Regions from separate parts of the Homo sapiens genome. Here all the other regions are linked to region 6. Evidence: promoter capture Hi-C in 16 types of primary human blood cells and fetal thymus (Javierre and others, 2016). All regions are on one chromosome and are shown on one strand. Each heading gives the region's core, a stretch centred on a gene start or on the middle of the fragment in contact. The rest is flanking DNA. Distances are from core to core; before and after follow the strand shown. Region 1 has its middle 37 kb from the start of CPXM1. Region 2 overlaps EBF4 (EBF family member 4). Region 3 overlaps DNAAF9 (dynein axonemal assembly factor 9). Region 4 overlaps EBF4 (EBF family member 4). Region 5 overlaps IDH3B-DT (IDH3B divergent transcript). Region 6 holds the start of GNRH2 (gonadotropin releasing hormone 2).

Evidence for each region. Contacts are between HindIII fragments. The CHiCAGO score rates a contact against its expected background, and 5 or more counts as called.
Region 1: a contact is called between a fragment that was not itself captured here and the fragment with the promoter of GNRH2 in region 6, in 1 of 17 cell types (endothelial precursors). The highest score is 5.1, in endothelial precursors.
Region 2: a contact is called between a fragment that was not itself captured here and the fragment with the promoter of GNRH2 in region 6, in 1 of 17 cell types (M0 macrophages). The highest score is 5.2, in M0 macrophages.
Region 3: a contact is called between a fragment that was not itself captured here and the fragment with the promoter of GNRH2 in region 6, in 5 of 17 cell types (naive CD4 T cells, naive CD8 T cells, total CD4 T cells and 2 more). The highest score is 10.0, in naive CD4 T cells.
Region 4: a fragment that was not itself captured here is called in contact with the fragment with the promoter of GNRH2 in region 6 in 1 of 17 cell types (naive CD4 T cells); the score reaches 5.9 in naive CD4 T cells.
Region 5: a fragment that was not itself captured here is called in contact with the fragment with the promoter of GNRH2 in region 6 in 4 of 17 cell types (naive CD8 T cells, total CD8 T cells, naive CD4 T cells and 1 more); the score reaches 7.4 in naive CD8 T cells.

Annotation. Positions count from the first base shown.
Region 1 is chr20:2,761,807-2,764,506 of GRCh38, reverse strand. No RefSeq gene overlaps it. Among named protein-coding and RNA genes, the nearest start is that of CPXM1, 37 kb to the left of the region's middle. The HindIII fragment of the contact is 1,158 bases long and covers 695-1,852 here.
Region 2 is chr20:2,709,855-2,712,554 of GRCh38, reverse strand. All of the region lies in intron 6 of EBF4 (EBF family member 4), which reads right to left. Among named protein-coding and RNA genes, the nearest start is that of EBF4, 18 kb to the right of the region's middle. The HindIII fragment of the contact is 1,192 bases long and covers 692-1,883 here.
Region 3 is chr20:3,318,816-3,321,515 of GRCh38, reverse strand. The region is part of intron 16 of DNAAF9 (dynein axonemal assembly factor 9); the gene reads left to right. Among named protein-coding and RNA genes, the nearest start is that of SLC4A11, 81 kb to the right of the region's middle. The HindIII fragment of the contact is 1,550 bases long and covers 662-2,211 here.
Region 4 is chr20:2,738,653-2,741,352 of GRCh38, reverse strand. All of the region lies in intron 6 of EBF4 (EBF family member 4), which reads right to left. Among named protein-coding and RNA genes, the nearest start is that of EBF4, 47 kb to the right of the region's middle. RefSeq lists an enhancer at 2,210-2,700. The HindIII fragment of the contact is 5,127 bases long and covers 1-2,700 here.
Region 5 is chr20:2,666,774-2,669,473 of GRCh38, reverse strand. It overlaps IDH3B-DT (IDH3B divergent transcript), which reads right to left. Exons shown (of 3, transcript NR_186432.1): 3 at 21-1,966. Among named protein-coding and RNA genes, the nearest start is that of IDH3B-DT, 3.8 kb to the right of the region's middle. The HindIII fragment of the contact is 390 bases long and covers 1,127-1,516 here.
Region 6 is chr20:3,042,227-3,044,926 of GRCh38, reverse strand. It overlaps GNRH2 (gonadotropin releasing hormone 2), which reads right to left and starts at 1,305. Exons shown (of 4, transcript NM_178331.2): 1 at 1,262-1,305; 2 at 359-519; 3 at 91-227. The coding sequence starts at 512. The HindIII fragment of the contact is 14,485 bases long and covers 1-2,615 here.

The sequences.
Region 1 (2,700 bases), core at 24-2,523, 280 kb after region 6:
AGACCAGTCTGGGCAATATAGTGAGACCTCCATCTCTTACCCCCTAAAAAATTAGCTGGGTGTGGTACCTGTAGTCCCAACTACTCAAGTGGCTGAGGCAGGAGGGTTGCTTGAACCCAGGAGTGAGCTATGATTGTGCCATTGCACTCCAGCCTGGGTGACAGAGTGAAACCCTGACACACACACACACACACACACACACACACCTCTTAGTAAGAGTGAAGAGAAGGGGAGCATGGGAGAAGTGATAAGAGGATGCTAGGTCCATATTTGTGGTCGATGCCTCGCCCCCATCAGGACTCTCACAGTGAAGGTCTTCTTGTGAACGGCCAACTTCTAGGCTGGTGGCTCCAAGGAGGTGACCCATTCCCTTCCATCACCCAGTGAGTGTTGTTACTACCACTGAGGTGGTAGCAGAGGAGGGAGCTGTGGACAGGGTGGGGAAGGCGGCTGGCCCAGGATAAGCAGTTAAGAGCTTTGGGAAATCACTAACCATGAAGACCTAGTCTCTCCTCGGGTAGAAAGACACTGTGAACTGTGAACTTTTTCCTATTTGGAAAAGTTCTCCTAGAGAAGTGAAAAGAGACTTTAGGGTCCATTTGAACCATTTCAAATATGTCCAGTGCTTGCTTCATTCCAAAGTTGGTCACATGGGTAGAAAAACAGACCTTGGATATCACTCTGGCAAAAAGCTTCTAGTCTATCTTCAGGGGCGTAAAGATTTATTGCTTTAGGTTTCACAGTTCCATCCACAATCCACCTGAAATTGATTTTTGTGTATGGTGTGAGGTAGAGGCCAAATGTAATTTTTGCATATGGCTATCCAATTAACCCAACACCATTTTCTTTTTTGAGAGATGGGGGTCTCACTTGTTGCCCAGGCTGGCCTCAAACCCCTGGGCTCAAGCAATCCTCCTGCCTCAGCCTCCCAAATAGCTGCCTGGGCTCTAACGTCATATTTTTAAAAGACCATCCTTTCCACACTGCGCAGCAGTTTCCATTTCTCTAGGGGATTTTTCTTTTTGGAAGAAGTTAAAAGGCTCTGCCAATATGGGGAGGGGGCAGGGAGAATGCTATTTTGCAGAATAGTCAGCAGAGGGCTGGTCAAAGCTGCTGCCTGGCTTCTCTTGAGCCAGTGAGACCTGTCTATAGCGGGTCCTGTCTGAGCCAAAATGTAGCCCCAGAAGCTCTCTGGTCCCCAGGGTCAGATGCAAAGTGTAGCAGCCTGGTTCTGCTGGGAAAAATTTGTAAGAGGAAAGCAGAGGACTTACTGGAGATGCACTCTCTCTGAACGGTGAGCAGCCAAGCGTCTGGTGCCCTTTCTATTCCCACCCCCATTAGAAGCCTGGGGGTGGGCTGACGCTGAGAGGGACCCCTTTGTCACCTGGCATCTTGGTACTTCAACAAGAAATAGCCTGGGCAGTTTTTGTCACCTGGTGCCAGGTAGAGGTGGGATCTGCAGATATAGGAAAAATCCATGCCTACTCCAAACTTACTTTAAGTAGAAAAAACCATCTTCCCCTGGATGACTGCCAGGGACCACCTCCAGGTATGTGCCCCACCCACATCCCCTCATCTGTACCTCCTCTGTGTACTCCTGTCTGATTCCAACTGTCAGCTCCTGCTTCTCTTTGTCTGAGTGTTTTCTCTAGCTACTGGGACTGTTTTACCACCTGTGGGGAAGACTGGAGGTGCCAGAAAGCTAGTGCTGCCCTCCCACTCCATCCAGAAGCCCTAACCACTGACTGATGAGAATTAGTGTATAAGTACCCCAGCTGCCTCACTCCTCAGGTGCGAAATTCCTGAGGTATGCATTTTATAGCCTCCCAGAGCTCCCAGCTGGGATTAAGCTTCAGAAAAACCCACAGTAGTAGCGTGCTCAGTAGCACTCTGTATTGGGCTTCCTTCTTTCTGCTGCCTCCCCTCCCTGCTCCCCTGACCGGTGCGTTCTGCAATTGTTGCCCAAATAAACCATCTGGACCCACCTCCTGTCCCAAGGTCTGCTGCTGGGGGAACTGAAATGAAGACAACTTCCATTCCAGGCGAATGATCCCACCCTGACCAATATTCACATAGGAATTGGAGCTAAGGTTAGGATTTTCATCACTTGCCTGGGATATCCAGGCTCTGTAGGGATGAATGCCAATGAGCCAATCAATTCTACTTGTGTGCAAGGCCTCAGGACTGAGCTAAACTAAGACCTAGTCATTTGATAGCATTTATTGGGTAGTGGGTCTCCACTACAGATTTATGTAAGCTCCAGGCCAAGTTTCTGCCACTTGGCTTAATGTCATCCTCAGGTGCTATTGAGAATGGAACCTCTTTGACTACAGGATGTGGGAAGTCTGAAAGGTGTTCCATTTGCAAGGCCCAGAAGATGCCCCAGTTGCTTTGCAGAAGGTGCCACAGACCCAGACACAGGCCCCGGTTTGCTGGTGGGCCGGTCTTGTACTGACTCATGGTCAGCAGTTTGACTTGCTCCTCACTGATTATAGACTACAAGAAGGCCTGGTGTGATATTGACTTGGCTAATAGTTTTCATCTCAAATAACAACTCTGATCAGTAGCTTCGTTGAAAATGATTCTGTCATCACGGTGGTTTTGTGGCATAGCAGAGGCTCTTGGTGCCCTGTCCACATCATCTCGGATTACTGTCCCAGAATTTGCTGACAATATTCTACAACAAAGCCTAACTGGTGA
Region 2 (2,700 bases), core at 38-2,537, 330 kb after region 6:
CATAAACATAACATGCTCAAACCAAACTCCAGATCTTTCTCCTCCAAAACCTGCTCTTCCCCAAATCACACCCTTCTCAGGAAACTCCATCCTTCTAAGTTGATAGGTCAGAAACCTTGGAGACATCTTTGAGTCTTTGACTCTCTCTCTCTCCTTCCATAACAAATCCTGTCAGTCCTGCCTATGAAATGAAATGTACACAGAATGCAGCCGCTTCTTACAACCTCCCCTATAGCATCCCTAGTCTCAGCTTCCATCATCCTTCACCTGGGCTATTGTACTGGCTTCCTAACTCATCTCCCTGCCTTGTACAGGTCATTGTCAATATGGCAGCTAGAGTGATCTTGCTAAAATATAAGGCAGGTCTTATCATTCTCAACACCCCTCAATGGCTTCCATGTCCTGCCAAAGCCCTTACAATGACCCACAAGTGTGGCCTCCATGCAGCCTATAAGACCCTGCATGGTCGTGCCTTCCTCTGCCCCATTCATTATTCCTGACATCATTTCCTCCTACTACCTTCCTTGCTCCAGCCACCTGGGCCTCCTTGTTTTCCCTTAAACACAGCAGGCACACTCTTGCCGAGAATATTCTTCCCCCAGATACATAAATACATCGCTCACTCTCTTACTTCCTTGAGGTCTTGGCTCAAATGTCATCTTTTCAGTGAGACCTTAAATACCCTAAAGCTTCAAACCTTCCTTCCTAGGCACTCCCAGATCTTCCTCAATGGCTTTATTTTTCTTAGCTGTTATCACCATCTAACATGCTATGTATTTTTTTCATTTAGTTTGTTAATGTCTATTTCCCCTACCAGATTGTAAGCCCGTGAACACAAGGCTTTTTGTCTATTTTGGTCATTGCTTAATCCACAGCATGTAGAAAAGTTCTTAGCACAGAGTAGATGCTCAAGAATTGTTGATTGAACAAATAAACAAAAATACTTAATTGGCCAGAGTGTAAGGAATAGGCATTCTCAAAATTGCTGGTTTCAATGCTGTTGGTATAACCCCTACAGAGATCGAATTGGCAGTAGCTATCAAAACTACAAATGCACATATTCTTTGTCCCAGCAATTCTACTTAGTAATAGCCTTCATATAAATTTACACGTGTGAAATGGCACATGGACAAAGTAATTCACTGCAGCATTTTTAAATCCCTGAAAAGGGATGAAAACAACCAAAATGTCCAGCAATATCTGACTATTTAAATAAATTATGGCATACCCATACAATGAAATATTTTGCAGTGGCAAAAAAGAATAAGGAGACTTCTTGTGTCCTGATGTAAACTCCCAGATCTAAATTTTTCAAGGAAAAAGAAAGGTGCTGAAAGTTCTGCTTCCTGCCACCATTTTAATTTTAATTTAATTTTATTATTATTATTATTATTATTATTATTATTTTAGACAGGGTCTCACTCTGTTGCCCAGACTGGAGTGCAGTGGCACAATCACAGCTCGCTGCAGTCTAGACCTCCTGGGCTCAGGTGATCCTCCCACCTCGGCCTCCTGAGTAGCTGGGACCACAGATGTACACCACCATGCCCAGCTAATTTTTGTGTGTGTATTTTTTGTTGAGATGGGATTTTACCCTGTTGGCCAGGCTGGTCTCAAACTCATGGGCTCAAGCAATCCCCCTGCCTCAGCCTCCCAAAGTGTTGGGATTACAGGCATGAGCCACTGCACTCAGCCACTGTCACCATTTTTATAAAAACAAAAGGAAAGGGTACAAAAAGAACATATAACTATTTTGTTGTATATGCACAGACTATCTCAGGAAGGATACAACAGAAACTGCTAATAGTGGTAGCTTATTTGGTGGGGAATGGATGGGTGGGAGACAGAGGTGGGAGACAGTTTGCTGTAAACCCTTTTAAGCTTCTTGAATTTTTGCACCTATGAATGCTTTTTCTATTAAAAGGAGAATAAGATATGGTTTATGTTCCTGTGTGGAATATCTAAAATATATTGTTACCAAAAAAAAAAAACATGTACAGTATGCTCTACATAGGGGTGGAGGGAGACTTCCTTTTCATTATTTACTGTTTTGTACCATTTGAATTTTACACCTTATTTATGCATTTCCTCTTCAAAAAGAAGTAGGCCAGGCACAGTGGCTCATGTTTGTAATCCCAGCACTTTGGAAGGTCGAGGTGGGTGGATTGCTTGAGCCCAGGAGTTCAAGACCAGCCTGAGCAATATGGCAAAACCCGGTCTCTACAAAAAATACAAAAAATTAGCCAGGTGTGGAGGCGTGTCCTTGTAGTCCCAATTACCTGGGAGGCTGAGGTGGGAGGATCACCGGAACCTCGGAGATTGAGGCTGCAGTGAGCCATGACCACACCACTGCACTTTAGCCTGGGCGACAAAACAAAACAAACACACACACACAAAATAAAGAAATAGAAATCATGGTGTGCAAATGCACTTTTACATGCATCACCTCGACAATTCTATGACTGAAACCTGCCAGCTCTTTCCCCACTTTTCCAGTGAAAGAAACGAATGTTCAGAGAAGTCAGGTCAGACAGCACAGGGGTGAACTGGGAACCTGAGCCTGGTTTTTGCTGACATGACCACGCTGGCCACTCCACCTGGACGGTTCCTGAGTGCTGGTTCCTCCCCTCCCTTCCCACCCCCCTCTCAACCTCCCTGCCCTCCCTGGCTCCTTCTCTCAGGGAGTCGGGGAAAGCAGCT
Region 3 (2,700 bases), core at 187-2,686, 280 kb before region 6:
GGTCAACAGTGGACTGCAGATACAACAGTGGTCCCATAATATCATAATACTGTATTTTTACCCACCATTTCTATGTGTAGATATGCCTAAATTCACAAATATTACCATCATGTTATAATTGCCTACAGTATTCAGTATAGTAACATGCTGTACGGGTTTGTAGCCTAGGAGCAATAGACTATACCAGCTAGCCTAGGTGTATAGTAGGCTACACCATCTAGGTTTAAGTACACTCTACAATGTTCACACAGTGATGAAATCAGCTAATGATGCATTTCTCAGAATGTATCCCTGTCATTAAGTGATACATGACTATAATTATTTAAATGGCCAATAATCAACAGGGACCTGGGTCTGCCATGAAGTAGAGTAGTCAGAGCAACGTTTTCCAACCTGTGTGCTGGGGGCATGGTTTGGAGATGCACTGAGATAATGGTCCCTGGGGTGGGATGGCATGGCGAAGGGGAGCCAGAGTTTCTAGGCCAGTTGTTCTCAGCCACAAGCTGAGTCCTCCCTTTACCCCAGAACATCCTGATGTGAAGAAGATTGGCAAATGGTACATGAGAGGGTAGTACATATCTAGCCAAGATTCTGTTTGTGGTGTGTGTTATATCTTGAGTCTGTTCTGTGACCACTGCCTGAGCCTTAGTTTGAAAAAGCTTTGGTCCCAGGGAACTGGGTGAGCAGCACCCAGTGGATAATTTGGTACAAGCGCATCCCCATCACCATCACCTGTGGAAAAGTAACTCAAAAGTTCCTGTCAGTAGTGTTAACCTATCTACAGAGAATAGCACAACAAGGGTAATTTTTTTAAGGTTGTAATTTATGTTTTTATAATGTTCCTGGTCCCCATCTGTCAACATTTTGTGTGGATGTTCTTTTAGAACTAGTTTAGACTTTTTTGTGATATCATTAAAACATTGGGAAATACTTTCTGATATTTAGGTGATAATACTTTATCTCCTTGTTAGACTTTAAATCCCTGACTTCTCTCCTTAGACTCTTGAGCAGTGCTTTGGAAGATGCTTTGCATAGTAGCAGGTGATTAGGAATCCAGTAAAATCATAGTCTTGCGTCAAGTATGCACAGCTAATGAGATAGGAAATAAGAGGCAGGAAGTTGATGCTTTTTGTCTACATTCTGTCCTCTTATCCAGAGATGAAGTTCTATATCCTCCCCAAAGCCTTCCCTGTTGATTTCTCCCTACAAGTATTCCTATAGTCCTTGCAGTTGCAGTTTGTACTACACAAATTAAGAAATAATTATATCCTAATGTGTCATATGATATCATAATGTGTCATATGATGACCTTCATATAAGAATGCCCTTGTTTCTCCAGCTATACATTATAGATTTCCTGAAGACAGGCACCATGCTGTATTTTTTCTTTCCCCGTGCCACATGGTGGGAAGTACATAACAAGTGTCCAACAAATGCTACATGTTATCTTTTTAATATCCTCTCTTCCCTTCCTCAATACCAGTGGCCAAATATGAACATGAAGGATCAGGAACCCCCAGGATCTGTCCACCTGATTGGTCTGGGAACCAAAGACATAGGATTGCCATTGTCACTTAAGAGGGACCATGTAGCTCAGGAGGGTTCTGTGTCTTCAGATGCTCGAAATCCTTTGAGACAGCTTTAGATAAACCTTCCAGTTGTCAAACCTGAAAGGAAAGTTAATTCAAATATAGACGCCTACTTGTCTCTTTTGTATATCCTATTATCATAATAATATGGAAAATTAAGGGCTTTGGCCTTAACTGTGGTTTTTTTCCTTTCAACCTTGTGGCCTCTTTAAGTTTTTATTTGAAAATTCAGCAATCCGTTCAAGAGCCTCAGATCTTTTGTCTCTGTCCTAAGGGGTGGGACAGGCGTCCCAGGCTAGGACGACAATATGTGAAAGTGGACTTAGGAGATCTGCACCAGCACCCACCGCTCACTACTATTCAGGGTAGGAGGGGACAGGTCCTTGTGCTACTTATCCCATGTCCCTCATCAGATCTTCCTGGTCATCACAGACTCTAGCTCTAGCTAACATCATTTTCTCTTTCTTCTGCTGGCTTCTTCCCGGAATTGTTTCATTTTCACTAGTTTTTACCTAATAAATTAGGGCTTTCTTACCAGACATTTGGGAGCTCTCTGAGTTGTTCTAATTTTGTTTCCAGGCTACTGAAGCCTCAGCTTTTATTTGTCTTGGCCATAAAAGCTTGATAGCTTTCTTGCTTTTTTTTTTTTTTTTTTTTTTTTTTTGAGACGGGGTCTCGGTCCGTTGCCCAGGCTGGAGTGCAGTGGCATGATCATAGATCACTGCAGCCTCAACCTCCTGGGCTCAAACAATCCTCCTGCCTTAGCCTCCTGAATAACAGAGACCACAGGCAGACGCCACCATGCCTGGCTATTTTTTTTTCTTTTTTTTTTTTTTTTTTTTTTGAGACAGAGTCTTGCTCTGTTGCCCAGGCTGGAGTTCAGTGGCGCGATCTCAGCTCACTGCAGCCTCCACCTCCCAGGTTCAAGCAATTCTCCTGCCTCAGCCTCCCAAGTAGCTGGGATTACAGGCACACGCCACCATGCCTGGCTAATTTTTTTTTGTATTTTTAGTAGAGATGGGGTTTCACCATGTTGCCCAGGCTAGTCTCAAACTCCTGGGCTCAAGTGATCCACCCGCCTCAACCTCCCAAAGTGTTGGGATTATGGGCA
Region 4 (2,700 bases), core at 161-2,660, 300 kb after region 6:
GGGGGTAGAAGGCAGAGTGGGATGGAGCTGCTTTTTTTTTTCAGTCAGGGTCTCGCTCTGTCACCCAGACTGGAGTGCAGTGGTGTGATCTTGGCTCACTGCAGCCTTGACCTCCCAGGCTTAAGTGATCCTCTCACCTCAGCCTCCTGAGCAGGTGGGACTACAGGTCACACTACCATGCTCAGCTAATTTTGTTTATTTTTTGTAGAGACGGAGGTCTCAGTACGTTGCCCAGGCTGGTCTCAAACTCCTGGGCTCAGGCGATCCTTCTGATTCAGCCTCCCAAAATGCTGAGATTACAGGCATGAGCCACCATGCCTGGCCTGGAGCTTCTTTTGGAAGACAACGTCCAGGAACTTTACAGTGAGTTGATGCCTGCCTGATTCCCTCATGCCCCAGCTGCAGTGTAGACTGTCAAATGGCTCGCAGCTGCCCCAAGGTAATCTGAGAATTACCCTCAGCCAAGAGCATATACTCCCCACCAGTAGCCCACAGCCAATGACAGATTGACATTACAAGGAGGACCAACTCTCTGGCCATTCACACTCCAGACCTCTGCATGGGATAGGCTGACGCTAGACTCCGACCGAGACCACCTCCTTGTTAAACTCCCTCTATACTCATTCCTTTTCTCCTGAGAGCTCTCCTTTGATAAACCTCTTTCACAAGAATCCCCATCTCAGGCTCTGCTTCCAGGAATCCCACCCTAAGAAAACTTAGGTCACAGAGCTAAGGCTTTTCACCAGCTTTTTCTTCCCTGCATCCCCATGAGATACTTAGGGCTGAAATTATGTTCTCACTTCCAAAGAGAAAGCTGTCAGTAACTCAAAGAGCTGGAAGGAGAGCCCGAGTGCATTTTCCACTACAGGTCTGTCAGGGGCAAGGAAGAACGTGTCTAGATTACAGTGCTCCCTAAGGGAACTTTTTCCAGAATGATATGCATTAGCCACGCATGGCTACTAAGCACTGGAAATGTGGCTAGTGCAACTGAGGAACTGAATTTTATTTCATTTTAATTAACATAAATCTATTTTTTTTTTGAAACGGAGTCTCGCTCTGTTGCCCAGGCTGGAGTGCAGTGGCGTGATCTCGGCTCACTGCAACCTCCACCTCCTGGGTTCAAGCGATTCTCCCGCCTCAGCCTCCTGAGTAGCTGGGACTAAAGGCGACTGCCACCATGCCCAGCTAATTTTTGTATTTTTAGTAGAGACAGCGTTTCACCATATTGGTCAGGCTGGTCATGAACTCCTGACCTCTGGTGATCCACCCGCCTTGGCCTCCCAAAGTGCTGGAATTACAGGCGTGGGCCACTGCGCCCAGCCATTTTAATGAACATAAATCTAAATAGTCACATGTGGCTCGAGACTACCATATTGGACAGTGCAGATCTAGAAAGAAGGTATGCAGTGAATGGATATACGAGCTGGGGCAGGATGTTCCAAACAACAGTGTGTCCTGTGAAGGCCTTGGGAAAGACAGCAGGTTAAGAGTGAAGGGTAGATTAAATTGGATATGTGTTTCCAAGCCCAAAGCTGGCACTGCAGCCTGAGATGGGGAAATAAGGGGACAGGGATCTCCGCTAATTTTTATCCTAAAAGATTTGTCTTGGGCTCCCATGAGCCTCCGAAGAAACTGAAGCAGTTTCTGGCTCTCCAGCGTGTTCACTGTCTGCTTCTCTCTACCCTCAGCTCAGGGACAGAGGAGGACACAGAGGGCTGGGCCATTCATCCCCTCATTCATTCCATACACCCACTTAAAAAGATTTATTAAATACCTTCTATGTGTTAGGCACTGCGGCATTGTATAAAATCTTAAGGAAATTACAACCCAACAGGAAAGAGAAACTCAGGAAGACAGAGTGGTGGGCACGGCAGGAGGATGTGCCAAGTGTAATCTGCAGTGGCCACTTATTTTGCCTAGGGGAGGCGGAATGCTTCCTAGAGCTCCAATTTGGTCTTGGGTGATGGGTCTTGGAGGATCTCACCGAGAAGTAGGAGGCAGGGCCCTCCATGCAAAGGGACTAACAGCTCCACCACGGGGCAGACGGCTCACTCGATCAGTGGTGCCTGACAAGACTGAGGAGGGCAGCGTGGCTTGGGGCCTGGGGTTGGGACCAAATCATGCGGGACTTGGATCCTCTGGGTGATGGGAAGGCTACAGGGGATGTCTCCCTTCAGGCAGAAACAGGCACCAAAGGGCCTACGCTAGAGAAGGGAAGGGAAATGAGGAGCTTACTGTAATAGTTCAGGCCCATGTGGGGTTGGCCCAGGCTGCTTCCTGGTCTTAGCCTGCGGTAGAAGCCAAGATAGACTGTCCCCAGGGCCACAGCCACCTGCCAGGCCTGGACCTGGCCTCCCCACCATGATCCCCACCCGGGTAGAGGTGGCTGCAGTGCAGATGGGCTGGAGGACTATAAATAGCCAGGGCGCATACATTAGCATGCCAATGCACCCGCACCCCATCCTCTATGCTAATGGCCCACCATGCGCCTGAACACCTTCTGTTCCCCTGCATGCATTTGCATGCACAATTAGCATAATCTTGTATAATTAATGAACAGCGTCAATTTTAGCTCCTAAGTAATTTGATTAACATGTTGATAGGGCACTTACTAGGCTCTCCAAACCTCAGGGCTGGGCATGGGGCCTGAGGAGAAGGGGAGGGGGTGTGGAGAGACTGCTAAGGGGCCCCCAGCTGCCC
Region 5 (2,700 bases), core at 72-2,571, 380 kb after region 6:
GTAAATTATAAAACAGTAAGTATATAGAGTATGAAACCATTTATTCCGACGCACACACTCATACACCAAAAACAATACTATATATTCTGTGTGTGTGTGTGTGTGTGTGTGTAAGAAAAGGGTTTTAAAGCGGACAACTAACTGATTCTGAGGTTAGGGCAAAAAGATTGGGGCTGTGAGTTGGTATGGTAAGAAAAAAATATATTTTAAAAAATATATATTTTTAAAAGAGGGTTATCTAATTAAAAGTACTAAAGCAAAATTCTATATTAAAACTAATGGAAAAAAAGAAGTGTTGCCTTTTAGGGGCTCTTTCTGGTAACTGATATCACCTCTCTCATTCTCTGCCATCTCTCATCTCCTGGTCTCTCTTGCTTATCAAGAGAAGACTATGTCACTTGGATCCCAGCTTTTCCCTGCCTCAGCTGAGGCCACTATCCTCGTTGACTCCCATGGTGACATGGATGCCTCATCAATATTGTGGGTTTGAGTCCTCATCTGCAGGGTCCTTGAGATCTCCTTGGCATCCACTCCCATTTCCTATCTGGGACTTCATTATCACCAGCATCTACTCCACCTCCAAAACCACTGGTGGAAGCAGCGTCCTCTCTTCCCATGTTACTTGCTCAACAACTCCCACAAGTACTACTCTTTGAATATTTTGGGGGGGTCTTTGATTCTTTCCTCAGCTGCCTGTTGATTAGATCTCTTCTGTCTTCACTTGCCTCCTGATCCCATTTTGCCAACACTCTCAACTCCCTTGTACCACTCTCTAGCAAAATATCACTTTTGGATGAACTCACTTTTGGTTTGCTCTCACCGTGAAATCACACACAATTGCACCACAATAAACTTCATGGTCACCAACCTCAACAGGGTGCTTAGTATTGCTCACAAAACTCTCTCTGTTTCTCTCGGACCTTGAACATGCACCAGTCCTACTTACTCACCAATCCTCACTATAACTCATCTCCTCAAATATATCTGCCCACCTCACTGTTCGTCAGCACGCTATGTTCACTGTCACCTCCGCAAGGTAGTGTCTGCCTTGGCCAGGTCCTCTTGGCAAGCTGGTGTATCCATTCCCCCAGTTGCTTCAGGTATTTGCCACTAACGGCTCAAAGCTTCCCCCTTCTCTGAAGGATTGGCCCTGGCCTATGCCATGCAGGGGCAAAGCAGGGTTGTTAAGCCTTGTCTCAAATCATGACAACCTTGAGTTGTCACTAATGCTCCAGAGCTCCCCAGGAGATGGGGCTGAGGTGGACTCTGGCTGAGGCCACATCTTGCTGAGCTCCTTCCCCTCCATATTCTGCTCATTCACCTTCTGATGTGTTTCTCCTGAGAGCACTCCTTCAACAGGTCAATTGCATAGAATCCCTGTCTTGGGCTCTGCTTCTAGGGCAGTTGATCTGAAACAGTAGCTTTGCTTACATTTCCATTTTCCCTGAGTGTAATCACTTCTCCTCTGTAATTCTGTTTATCCTTTCAATCACAGATCAAATTCTCCCAAGAAGCTTTTTCAGACGTTAATTTTCAAGGAATTGTCATTGGTTATATTACTCTTTTGATTGTTCATGGTTTCAGAAAAAGATCCAGTAGGCCTAATACACCAGAAATTCTGAAACTTTTGTGTGCAGCGGACCTCTTTGGAAGGCTGGTGAAGCCTGTGGAACCTTTCTTAGAAGAGGCTTTTAGGCCGGGTGCAGTGGCTCATGCCTGTAATCCCAGCACTTTGGGAGGCCGAGGCGGGTGGATCACGAGGTCAAGAGATCGAGACTATCCTGGCTAACACGGTGAAACCCTGTCTCTACTAAAAATACAAAAAGATTAGCTGGGCGTGGTGGCGGGCGCCTGTAGTCCCAGCTACTCCGGAGGCTGAGGCAGGAGAATGGTGTGAACCCGGGAGGTGGAGCTTGCACTCAGCTGAGATCGCCCACTGCTCTTCAGCCTGGGCAACAGAGCGACTCTGTCTCCAAAAAAAAAAAAAAAAAGAGACTTTTAAGTATATAAAATAAATAGAATTACAAGACAAATATGATTAAGACAAGCCTGGGCGACATAGCAAGACCTCATGTCTACAAAATATTTAAAAATTAGCTAGGCATGGTGGCGCATGCCTGTAGTCCCAGCTACTTGGGAGGCTGAGGTGGGAGGATCACCTGAGCCCAGGAGTTTGAGGTTACAGTGAGCCGTGATCACACCCTAGCCTGGGGAACAGACTGAAACCATCTCTCTAAAAGGAGAAAAGGAATAAAAGCTACCTTGTAACATACTACTATGTTTGCTGCTTTATTAATTCATTAAATAACACAATCTAGCATTGGGTCAAATAATGTAAAAATAGGATTAAAGTAAGTGATATTTTGAGAGATCTACTACAACTAAAATGTGGTATGAAAATATCTATACTTTTTATGATTGACAAAGTCAAGAGTACTACAGGCAGCACTGTAATCTGTGACCTGCATTCATAATGAAAGGAAATGCTAAACTTCAGTTAGAGGTTAGTGAGAATAAAGATGTGATTTTTGGTTTTTCCCCCATCCAGGTTCACAGTGCTGATTCCTATTCATGGACACCTAGGGGGTTCTGTAGATCCCAAGTCAGGACTCCTGTGCTGGAGGATTTGCAGGCCTGGGAAGCAGACATTCAAGTCACTCAGCTTCACACTGAACACTCAAGTGTAGGCAGCTCATCCAT
Region 6 (2,700 bases), core at 56-2,555:
CCCCACCCTCCCAGCACCCAACCCTAAGCCACAATGGCCTCTGATGACCAGTGGCTGGTCTTGATGCTGGGGACCTCTCACCCTACTCACCAGCAGTGTCCGTGCCAGGTGTCGCTTCCTGTGAAGGGACCACTGGGCCGTGGTCCTGCCCTCCCAGGGCATGCTGTCGTCCAGGGGAGCCAGGGCATCACTTGGGAGGCCATGGGCAGTCTGGACTGGGCTGCCTGCTGCAGTGTCCAGGGCCCTTCCTTAGAAGGGAACTGATGCTGTCCTCCCTACCCCGACCTCAGGCTCCAGGAGGGTGGGGGAGCCCCCGGCCATCACTTTCTTCCTCCCCATGAGGCTGGGAGACACCCACCTGGGGGCCTAAGGGCATTCTGGGGATCCTGGGCTGAGCTGAGGGCTCGCTTTCCTCCAGGGTACCAGCCATGGGACCAGTGCTGAGCCTCTGAGGGTCCAAGGTGGGCAGTCAGCAGCAGCAGGAGCAGGAGGCCTCGCCTGGAGCTGGCCATGGCTGCTCTAATGGACAGGGTACAGCATTCAAGGAGACTTACCTCACCCCCACATCCCCCTACTTCCTCCAGGGCCACTTTGGAAAACTGGCATCTCAGGGGCAGCTTTGGTATCTCCTTATGCCCTTCCCTCTCTGCCACCGCTCCTCATCCCAAGCATACAGGGGTCCAGATCCTGGGGGATCCTGGCCCAGCAGGGGATGATGCTCCAGGGGACGAGCCTTCTCCCTGAGCCTGGGGCACAGAGGCTACCTGCCTTGCCAGCTCTGAGGGCCCTCCCACTTGTCCAGGTCCATCCATCTTTCCTTCAAGGAGTTTCCAGAAGTGGAAGAAAGTTGGAGGGGAACAGAGACCTGAATTCAGGCCAATGGATGGGAGGATAGATGGATGGTCAGGGGAGTTCTCAATGTAGGCGTGTTTGGAGCACCAGTGCTAGGGAACCAGAGTTGCAGGCCTTCTGCCCTTTTCTCCGTGGCCTGCTGTATCTCTTCCATAGTAGTTGGGGATGTGGAATGGATGAGTGGTATTGATGGGGGCAAGTGCTTCTACCCCTTATCCCTCCCATGCCAGGGGCAACAAGCACAAGAATAGATGGTAGAGCTGTTGGGGAGAGGAGAGGAAAAGGGGACTTCTCTGGCATGGTTCAGGGGTGGAGGCACCTGGGAATGGGGAAGAGGAGCAGCACACCATACGCCCAGGATGAAACTTGGTCCAGGTGTCCTAGCCCTTAGGGAAGGCTCCCCACTCACCAAGGAAGAGCTGTGGATGAGATGGCTCCTTCAGGCAGCTGCAGGACCCTAGCCTGATGGCCCCAGGATTTATAGACCAGGCAGCTCCACCCCCAGACTCCAGTGACGTCTTCAGAGGGGAAGAGAGAAGCTCACCACCCAACCCGCTTCCCAGAGCATCCAGTCCATGAACATTCACCAGGCAGCTGCTGCCCTGAGGCCACCGACACATGCTCCCTCCCCACCACCTTCCCAGGAGCCTTCAGGCCCAGGACTCTTGCTTTAGGCTGGCCTATGTCCTGGTCTCACCTTCCCACTTCCCAGGCTGCATCTTCAAGCTCCTGATCTTGAGACCTAGAAAGCCCTCACAGCCTTCCCTGATCCCAAAAGAGAATTGTGTCCTGGGCAGGGGCAATGCCTGGGGGCTCCCCAACTCCCAGCTCAGGGCTTTCCCTGGTGGACAGTGGAAGCCTAAGAGTAGGGAGCCTGGCAGGCTGTTCAGAGGTACAGGGGAGGCTGTGACCACTCTCCCAGAGGGCTTCCGTTTGCTCACTGTAGAGTGGGTTGGGTGGGACAATTCACATCCACACACCTGGGAACCAGGGCTGGGTCACTCCAGATGGCTGGGTTTGGGTGGGGCAGTACCTACCCCGGAGTGGCTTCTCTCCTGGCGAAGAAGCGGGCCCATGAGATGGGGCCCAGCTGTTGGGCCAGTGCAGTCTCCCTAGGTAGGTAGAATAATTTTGTCCCTCAAGGCTCTAACCCCTCCCCAGTCATGGATTTGGACACAGCTAGCCTGGGCTGCTGGAAGTGGGCTCTTGCTTCCCAGTCTGCGTCAGCAGCTCAGCTTTCCTTGGCCAGCCATCAGCCTCTGGGGGTCAGAGGCCTGTTTACAGGGTTCATAGCCAATCTCCGCACTTGGGCTGAACAGCAAATGGGAGGGCCAGGGTCATTTGGAGAGCTGGTGCGTCAAATCCTGTGACAAAGATGGGGGAGGGGAGGCATAATGGGCATCAGTCAGCCCTAGACACCTGGACTTCAGCAGCCAAGGCAGGATGGGCACACCTGTGAACTTCCAGACTGACTTATTAGCAGGGACCGGAAATCAACGTGTGGCCCATTTGTTCAGTTAAATTGTTTTGGCTTAAATATGCGGACTTTGTTAACTGGGTGATTTTTAGGGAAACATTTGCTTGTGGTTTAGTGAAAATGAATCTGAGTTCGACGTACTAGTTTAGTTCTGGTTGGGGTTTACAGAATGCTTTCTTCAAAGATGCACCAAGGCTGGTGTACCTTTAAAAGGGGGATGGTTGCCTTTATTTATTCTGTAATTTGATTCCGGCTTTTCCTGAAAAATCTAAACCAGAGCCAAGCTTCCTGGGGAAAGCTCTGCTCCCTTTTTTTTCCGGCAACATACTTAGCTTTTAAGAAATGTTTGGTCCTTTCCAGACTAGAACTGT